Linked DNA regions of Homo sapiens: region 1 is linked to region 2. The links are contacts of gene promoters, found by promoter capture Hi-C in blood cells and fetal thymus (Javierre and others, 2016). All regions are on one chromosome and are shown on one strand. The core of a region is centred on a gene start or on the middle of the fragment in contact, and the rest is flanking DNA. Distances in the headings are between cores, read along the strand shown.

The links. The method cuts DNA at HindIII sites, captures the fragments that hold promoters and counts their contacts. A CHiCAGO score of 5 or more calls a contact.
Region 1: a contact is called between the fragment with the promoter of SLC33A1 here and the fragment with the promoter of SHOX2 in region 2, in 1 of 17 cell types (non-activated CD4 T cells). The highest score is 5.4, in non-activated CD4 T cells.

Annotation. Positions count from the first base shown.
Region 1 is chr3:155,852,100-155,855,961 of GRCh38, forward strand. It overlaps SLC33A1 (solute carrier family 33 member 1), which reads right to left and starts at 2,328. Exons shown (of 6, transcript NM_004733.4): 1 at 1,124-2,328. The coding sequence starts at 1,898. LOC105374174 (a long non-coding RNA gene) reads left to right here and starts at 2,654. Exons shown (of 3, transcript XR_924607.4): 1 at 2,654-2,979. RefSeq lists enhancers at 1,916-1,985, 2,356-2,915. The HindIII fragment of the contact is 4,607 bases long and covers 1,569-3,862 here.
Region 2 is chr3:158,104,946-158,108,724 of GRCh38, forward strand. It overlaps SHOX2 (SHOX homeobox 2), which reads right to left and starts at 1,475. Exons shown (of 5, transcript NM_001163678.2): 1 at 734-1,475. The coding sequence starts at 1,079. RefSeq lists a silencer at 865-914 and an enhancer at 1,663-2,166. The HindIII fragment of the contact is 5,227 bases long and covers 292-3,779 here.

The sequences.
Region 1 (3,862 bases), core at 1,078-3,577, 2.3 Mb before region 2:
CTGATATTGGTCATTTTACTTGTTTTCTAGTTGTTACAAAAGTTAAAAACAAACAAACAAACAAAAAAGCTTAGGCCAGGTGGGGTGGTTCACACTTATAATTCCCAGTACTTTGGGAGGCCAAGGAGGGGGAGAATCACCTGAGGCCAGGAGTTCAAGACCAGCCTGGCCAACATAGTGAGACAGCCCCCCCGACCCCCAACTATCTCAATTAAAAAAAAGAAGAAAAAAGAAAAAAGAGAAAAACTTACATGTGTTTTACTCATGCAGAGAAACAGGGAAATTTTTTAGAACTTACCCTCCATTACTTACAGGACAAACTTTAAACTCTTTTCCCATAGTAATTAAAGAAAATCTTACTAATTTAGTCACAGCCTTTCTCAGCACGATTTCCCAAACCCAGTTCCACAATTTAGGCAATGTCCTGTACTTTTTTGTACTTTCCTGCCTCAGTGCACTTTTACTTTGTGTTGTGCATTCTGGTGTGCCATTTCCTGGCCTCGTGGAATCTTATTCAAGAACAAAGTCAAATGTTATCTGCAATGTGAAGCCTGACTCCCAAAGGCAGTTACTAACTGGCAACTCTGAACTCTCCTAAAATGTTCATCTTCCTTATTTCTTGAGTGCAGAACTCTGCCTTATTCATTAGAGGCCTTAGAATCCCGTCCCTTAGCTGGTTCAATAATGTTTGAACGAATAAACCCTGTTCCATTCACTAGAAGGCTGGATTCTGGGTACAACGGTAGGGGTAGAAATGGATTAGAAAGTATAGAGCTAGAAACCTAAAACCAACAAGACAAAAGGAAAAATGTGAACCATATGAGCCACACTTTTTAAAAGTGTGCATTTGTGTATTAAGCAAGTGGCATGAATCCCTGGACTCGGTTGTGTTATTTGATGGGTTGCCTCTCCCTGTTAACCGCATAGTGATCATTTGATTGCTCTAATATCATTCATTTTGGCTTTAATATTTCAAAGAAGCTCATTTGGACGAAACAGAAAACTTACCTTGAGTTATCTCCCATACAATGATTTCCAGTAAATTAATGAGCTTCCCTCCAACGTCACACACTCTTTCAAAAGGATAAATAAACCTAACACCATAATAGCTTAAATACACTACCTGAAAGAGTAACGATTCCTCTGGGTTGAGGCTGAAACCGCAAATATTTGTTACAAAAGTCGGCAGATTCAAGGGCCAAAAACAAAACATTGCCCAAAAAGTAACCCGCTGTTTGGCCCACCGAATTGCAAGTAGAAGCATAACCCACATTTTCCCTGGATAACATAGTTAACGCCCAACCATCGACGGCAATGTCCTGAGTGGCGGCCAAGAATTCAAACAAAAAGAACGCCACAGTGAGAGCAATCACGTCGGGTGTTCTGTCATCGGTATTCCCAAGCAAACGGTCCACCTGAGTGGATAAATAGATCATGAAGAGTCCTAGTATATACTGTGTCGGGACAAGCCAAGATTTGCGACGACCGAAGTTCTTAACGTAGACCGCATCAACCAACGGGGCCCAGAGTAATTTGAGACTGAAGGGCCAAAAGACAAAACTGAAGAAAGCTTGGTCTGTATAGCTAACATTTTTGCTTTGCAAAATGAGTGGGATGCTTCCCGCCAAGCCCAGGGGAATACCCTGAAGCACGTAAAGAAAGAGTAGTAGCAAAATGCTGCTTAGTTCGGCCCGGAAGCTCTGTGGGGCTTTTAAGAAGTCGCCAGTGCCGGTATCCCCCAGAAGAGCTTCTCTGTCCCCTTCCCGGCCCGCTGAGTCCAAATGACTGTCATCCCAACCGCCTGGCGGCAGGGGACCGCTCTTCATATCCAGAGAGTGACTGAAATTCCCTGGCCGCCGTTGCCGGCTGCTGTCCTTGTGGGAGATGGTGGGTGACATATCAGAGACGATGCAGAGCCCCGTCTGTGGGGGGCCGAGGCTGAGCGTTTTGGATCCGTCCAGTCCCAGGTCCAAGGCTGTCGCGCTGGACCAGGGTTTCGGTGGTTCACGGGATGGTGGCAGGGCTCAGAGCGATAAGGGCACTTCTTACTGCAGCCCGGAGTGCTGAAGCCGGGAGCCAGTCCTCTGGCTAGAGGCCCAGAGGATGCCTGGATAGGTGCCCCCTGGAACGGCGTCAAAGAGCCTGAAGGAGACCCCCGGGCAGCAGCGCCGGGCTCGAGGCTGGAGGTGTGTGCCGTGGTGCCAGGATGGAAACCAGCTCCTACCTGCGGCGGGATCGAACGGCTGGTCTCCCGACCCAACACCTCCAGCTCTCGCTGCTATCAATGCGGCAGAGAGCACTTTCTCTACAGGACTCCAGAAAAAGCATATAACTTCCTGCCTCGCGCTTCAGGAAGTGGTCCCAGTCTCTAACAGGTCCCTTCCCAGCCTCCAGAGCAAGCCAATCAGGGACACGCTCTCGTGGCCCAGTTCGGAAACAATGCTTGGTGGGAACCTGCAATCTTGGCTGCCGGAACCTTCGGGGAGGATTAACGCCGGCGCACCGTGCGGCCGGGGCGGGGCGCCGCCCAAACTCAGGCCCTGTGACAGCGACTGTGGCGGTCTGGAAAGCGTGGGCCTCGGTCATTGGGCACGAGCGGTCACGTGACAGCGGGTTCCTCCAGGCCAGCGCTGGTGGTTGAGTGATGTAATCACGTGGGGTCTGAAGTCTTCGTGGGTGTAGGTTTCTTCGTTATGCTGACGACAGGCAGTGCCCGAACTCTAGGCTGGGAGTTGTGCCATGCTGCTGCTTTCGTGGGCTGACCAGAAAAGGGTAGAAGGATTGACGTTTACGAAGTTTTTGAATCAGGAGGCAAGGTCGCCTTGTGCCCCCAAAAGGATAGAAAAAGGCCTGGCAAACTGGAGAATCGCGTCCTTACGGTGCCTACATATTTATAGTACGAATTAAACTGCTCAAGGGGTGCTAGGTTTGTCTGCAGTCCGTTTCTCCCTCATGGTGGAAGACGCGTGGGGAAACTTGGTAACCAACTCTAATTACATTGGTGATTGGAAGACTCGTTACATCCTGTTTTTATGTTGCAATAAAACGTCTTGTGGCCGGGCGCGGTGGCTCACGCCTGTAATCCCAGCACTTTGGAAGGCCGAGGCGGGCGGATCACCTGAGATTGGGAGTTCAAGATCAGCCTGACCAACAAGGAGAAACCCGTCTCTACTAAGAGACGTACAGGAATTTGAGAATCTGATTAATTTTTTTTCTGCTCTCTCACCTCTGGCAGAAAGATTATTATTTTTTTTTCTTTTGAGAGGAATCTCACACTGTCGCCTGGGCTGGTGTTCAGTAGGGCCATCTCGGCTCGCTGCAGCCTCCACCTCCCGGGTTCAAGCGATTCTCCTGCCTCAGCCTCCCGAGTAGCTGGGACTACAGGCACGCGCCACCACGCCCGGCTAATTTTTGTATTTTTAGTAGAGACGGGGTTTCACTATGTTGGCCAGGCTGGTCTCGAACTCCTGACCTCGTGATCCGCCTGCCTCGGCCTCCCAAAGTGCTGGGATTACAAACGTAATGGCAGGCTAGGCACAGTGGCTCACGCCTATAATCCCAGAACTTTGGGAGGCCGAGGCGGGTGGATCACGAGGTCAAGAGATTGAGACCATCCTGGCCAACACGGTGAAACCCCGTCTCTACTAAAAATACAAAAAATTAGCTCGGCCTGGTGGCGCGCGCCTGTAGCCCCAGCTACTTGGGAGGCTGAGACAGGAGACTCGCTTGAACCTGGGAGGCGGAGGTTGCAGTGAACCGGGATCGTGCCACTGCAATCCAACCTGGCGACAGAGTGAGACTCCGTCTGGAAAAAAAAAAAAAAGGCAACTGTAAAGTCCTCTAATCTTTGTTAAGTAGAAGA
Region 2 (3,779 bases), core at 225-2,724:
AGGATTTTTGCTCTAAGAGAACCGAGTACTGGGTGATTGAAAACACTAAAGGAATTGTGTAAATATAGATCCCCACCTCCCCCGCCGCCCCCCCCCCCCGCCCCCAACACACCAAGAAACCGAAACGCCTCGCCCGGGAGAAGCAGCGTAGCCTGGACCTCAGCTTTCGTTGGCTTCCTTCTACCTTGAAAGAGAATGGGAAGTTTTGGCCCCTAAGATCCAAAGATTCAGGGGCTCTGCGGAGTTCGAGGGGTCTTGGCGGCCCCAAACACCTAGGCGACCGGAGGGTTAAGCTTTCCACCTCTGCCCCTTCTCCCTCCCGGCAAACTCTGCGCTAGAGGCTAGCTTTAGTCCCGCCGTCTGGTTCAGCACCCCCTCCTGCAGCCCGGCCCCGCGAACTTCCACGTCCGCCTGCGGGCCATCCGGGCTGCGGGCCCATCCTCCCGCTGGTGAAAAATGCATTTCGGTGGAATGGGAACATCTGGGAAGGGCGCGCACAAACCCCACACGCTTCCCCCCACGCCACCCCCACAACACACTAGGACCCCACCCATGACCGAGCATACCACCGGACCCCCACCCTTCCACTATCACTCTAGCTGACAAAGCTGGGGTCCAGGGCCCTCTCCGTGTCCCTCTCCCCTCCCCGCTGGGCCTCGGAGTCCTCTCCCGCCCGAGAGGAGTCCGGAAGGCGGGAAGGGGAACCGCTGCCGGGGGTCAGTCAGGTCGTTACCCTCCGTCAGTCGCGGGCTGCCCGGCTCCCTGCTTCTCTCGGCGGCGCCCATGTCCAGCTCCCGGACGGGAGAGCGCCCTCCTCCAGCTCCTCCGCCTGCTCCTCCTCCTCCTACACCTCCTCCGCCTCCTCCGCCGCCGCCTCCGCCTCCTCCGCCGCCGCCTCCGCCGGCCGCCCGGACTGCCGGGCTGCTGCGGTCGTCGCGGCCCGCCTCGGTGCAGCCGGTCGGCTCCTTGGCCCCGCGCAGCGGCCCGCTCTCCAGCACCTCCCGGTACGTGATCGCCTCCTTCTTCTCCTTCACTTTCTGGTCAAAAGACTTGGAGACGAACGCCGTAAGTTCTTCCATCGCCGCCGCACGTCAGCCCGGCGCTCAACCTCTGCCAGCAGAGCCCCGCTCTTTTTTTCCTTCTTCTTTTTTTACTGCTCCAGCCCCCCCAATAATAACACATCAATGGGACAGGAGGTGGGGGAGGAGAGGGAGGAGGAGAAAGAAGAAGAAAAAGAGGAGAAGAAAGAAGAAAGAGGAGGAGAAGTAGAAGGAGAAAAAGAAGTAAGAAGAGGAGGAGGAGGAAGAAGAGGAAGAGGGGGAGAAGGGTGAAGAGGAGAGGGAGGAGGAGGAGGAGAAGAGAAGGGGCGGGGGCTGCCGGAGGGAAATGGGAACTGATGCTTCCCTGCCGGAGCGCGCTTGTTCAATGTTAAGATCTTTGACAATTCTTCCTGCGGAGAGTTCAGATCTGATAGCGACGCTGCGCTTGAAGTCCCACTATTTATACTTCCTAACGGCGGCCTCTTGTTTTGAGTAAATTACCTCCCCTCGCAACTCGGAGTGAGCCCCCTTCCCGGGTAGCAGTCGCGCCTCTACCGGGGGTTGGGGAGGGGAAAAGGAGAGAAACAGAGAGAGAGAGAGAGAGAGAGAGAGAGAGAGAGAGAGAGAGAGAGAGAAGAGGAGAGAGAGAGATTGGAGTTCGGGCGGGCTGGGGCTGGAGTGGTAGGGCAGCACAGGGGGACCGGAGGGGGCGGGGAGAGAAGGCCGGTCCCCGGCCGCTCAGGTTTTCAGATAGCCCCTGCCGCCTGTGCTCTTGGCCATTAATCCAGGATTGACAAGAATCCCTAATTAATTTAATTAGGCGTGGATTTTGCGTTGGTGTCACGACTTAGTTAAACACTGGGGAGCTGGATAGACCCCGCGGGGTGGGGCCAAGAGGAAACTGACAAGTGCGCAGCTCTTAGAGTCAGTCAGGTATCCCGACACTGCATCCTTCCCTACAGCCTTGCTTCGAGTCAGGGTGCCTCGCAATGCTCAGCTTCGCATTGCTTTTCCTCGTCCCTGCCCTGCATCAACCGCCCAGCAGTTTACAGGCCCCGCATCCCATTCCCGCATCCTGACCCCGCATCCCAATTCTGCATCCCCGCCTCTCCCTCACAATCCCACCCCTGCCGGCCGTAGCTCCACCGCCCAGCATCATCCTGCCCAGAGACAGGGTTGCCTGCACCTTCTCCGACCCGCGCAGCTTCTCTTAGGAGCTTCCCGGCTCGCAGGCAGGCTGAGTCCGGGTCTTCTCCAAGCTCCTCGCCCCTCGGTCCGTGTTATTCGCTCTATTATTCGTGTCCTGGAGCCCAGCTGACTCCTCTATGGACAGACCCCGCTAAAAGGGACCAGTCGATTTAACAAGTTTCCCCAGCAGCTGTTAGCTGACAGATCTCATTTTAAAGTGTTTCCTTAGCGCCCGGTCAAGGACAGCTCGACTTCGTTCGTTTCCTCTCTGAGGTCTCAGAACTCCCACCCTTCTCCCTTACTCTCTGCACTCGGACCCCTCTATGGTGAATTACAGGACTTCTTCTTTAGCATCTTGGGAAACATCCGAGTTTATTTACTAATTTGAAAAACAAGAGATTATCCCTCTTCGAGTCTGAAAAAAAAATCGACGTTAAGTTTGTACCCCCTCTAATTTCATTTATTACGGAGAGCTAAAAAAGAGACGCTCGCCAGGAGTAAAGGTCTCTCTGCCTACCCCCCCCACCACCCCGCTTACGATTTAAAATTCTATTTCTGGGCTATTTTCATCGGAACGGTTTGTTACGTTAGAGGAACATCTATATTCCTGAGTCATTTGTCTGTATTGTGCCGGACAGGGCTTGCTGTGAGAAGTGTGGCTATGCAAATACATACTCACAAAAGAATATTTACATATGATGTTATATTTAAGTGTGTAAACAAATATACCTCTAAGTGTGGCTTAGGGGACATTTTCAAGTACTCTGAATATTAATGCAGACTTTCTGGAAGTTAAAGGTAACTTGATCATTATTTTGGATCTAATACTCTTAGTAAAAATAAGAGGAATTACAGAACATTAATATGTATATCTTCCGTATATTGGTTAAGGCATCAAAACAAATTAGCAGATAATTTAAGAAGTTCCGTCAAAACAACCTGAAACACTTGCAAAAAGAGAACACAATTATAACTTAATATATTAGTGTTTCTCAAATAGATGTAGATAGAAGCTGGATATAACCTTATGTTATACTACAATACTCACATTAAAATGTTCATGTTTGGTGAGTTTAAGGATTATGTATATCATGCTTTTTAGAAACGTTGTTTTCCCTTTTTAAAACATTTCATTTTTTGCCACTTTTAGGAGAGCTAATGTCTATAATTTTTCCGCAGCTATAGCTTTTAGGTATGAATACATTGTTATCAGTACTTGCTTTTGTTTTGTTACACCACAAAAGGGACAAAGTTTCAAAGTTATACGAATTTAGAAACAATTTCACATTGAGTCTTGGGTTACTCTTTGTAACTACTTTCTGATATTATCAGAGGAAAATAATCATACAACTTTAGTCCTTTATGAAAATCTGTTTTTAAGATTATTTAGCAGAAGGGCCAGTAATAGGGAGAGCTAAGAGGATACGGTGCTCAAGGTGCTCTCAAACTGAGGTGTTAAATACATATTCACAAATAACTCAAAAATAACCACTGTTAGAAGTCGGTTAAGGAATCAGGAGACCCACCAGCTACTTGTTTGCCTTTTTAAGT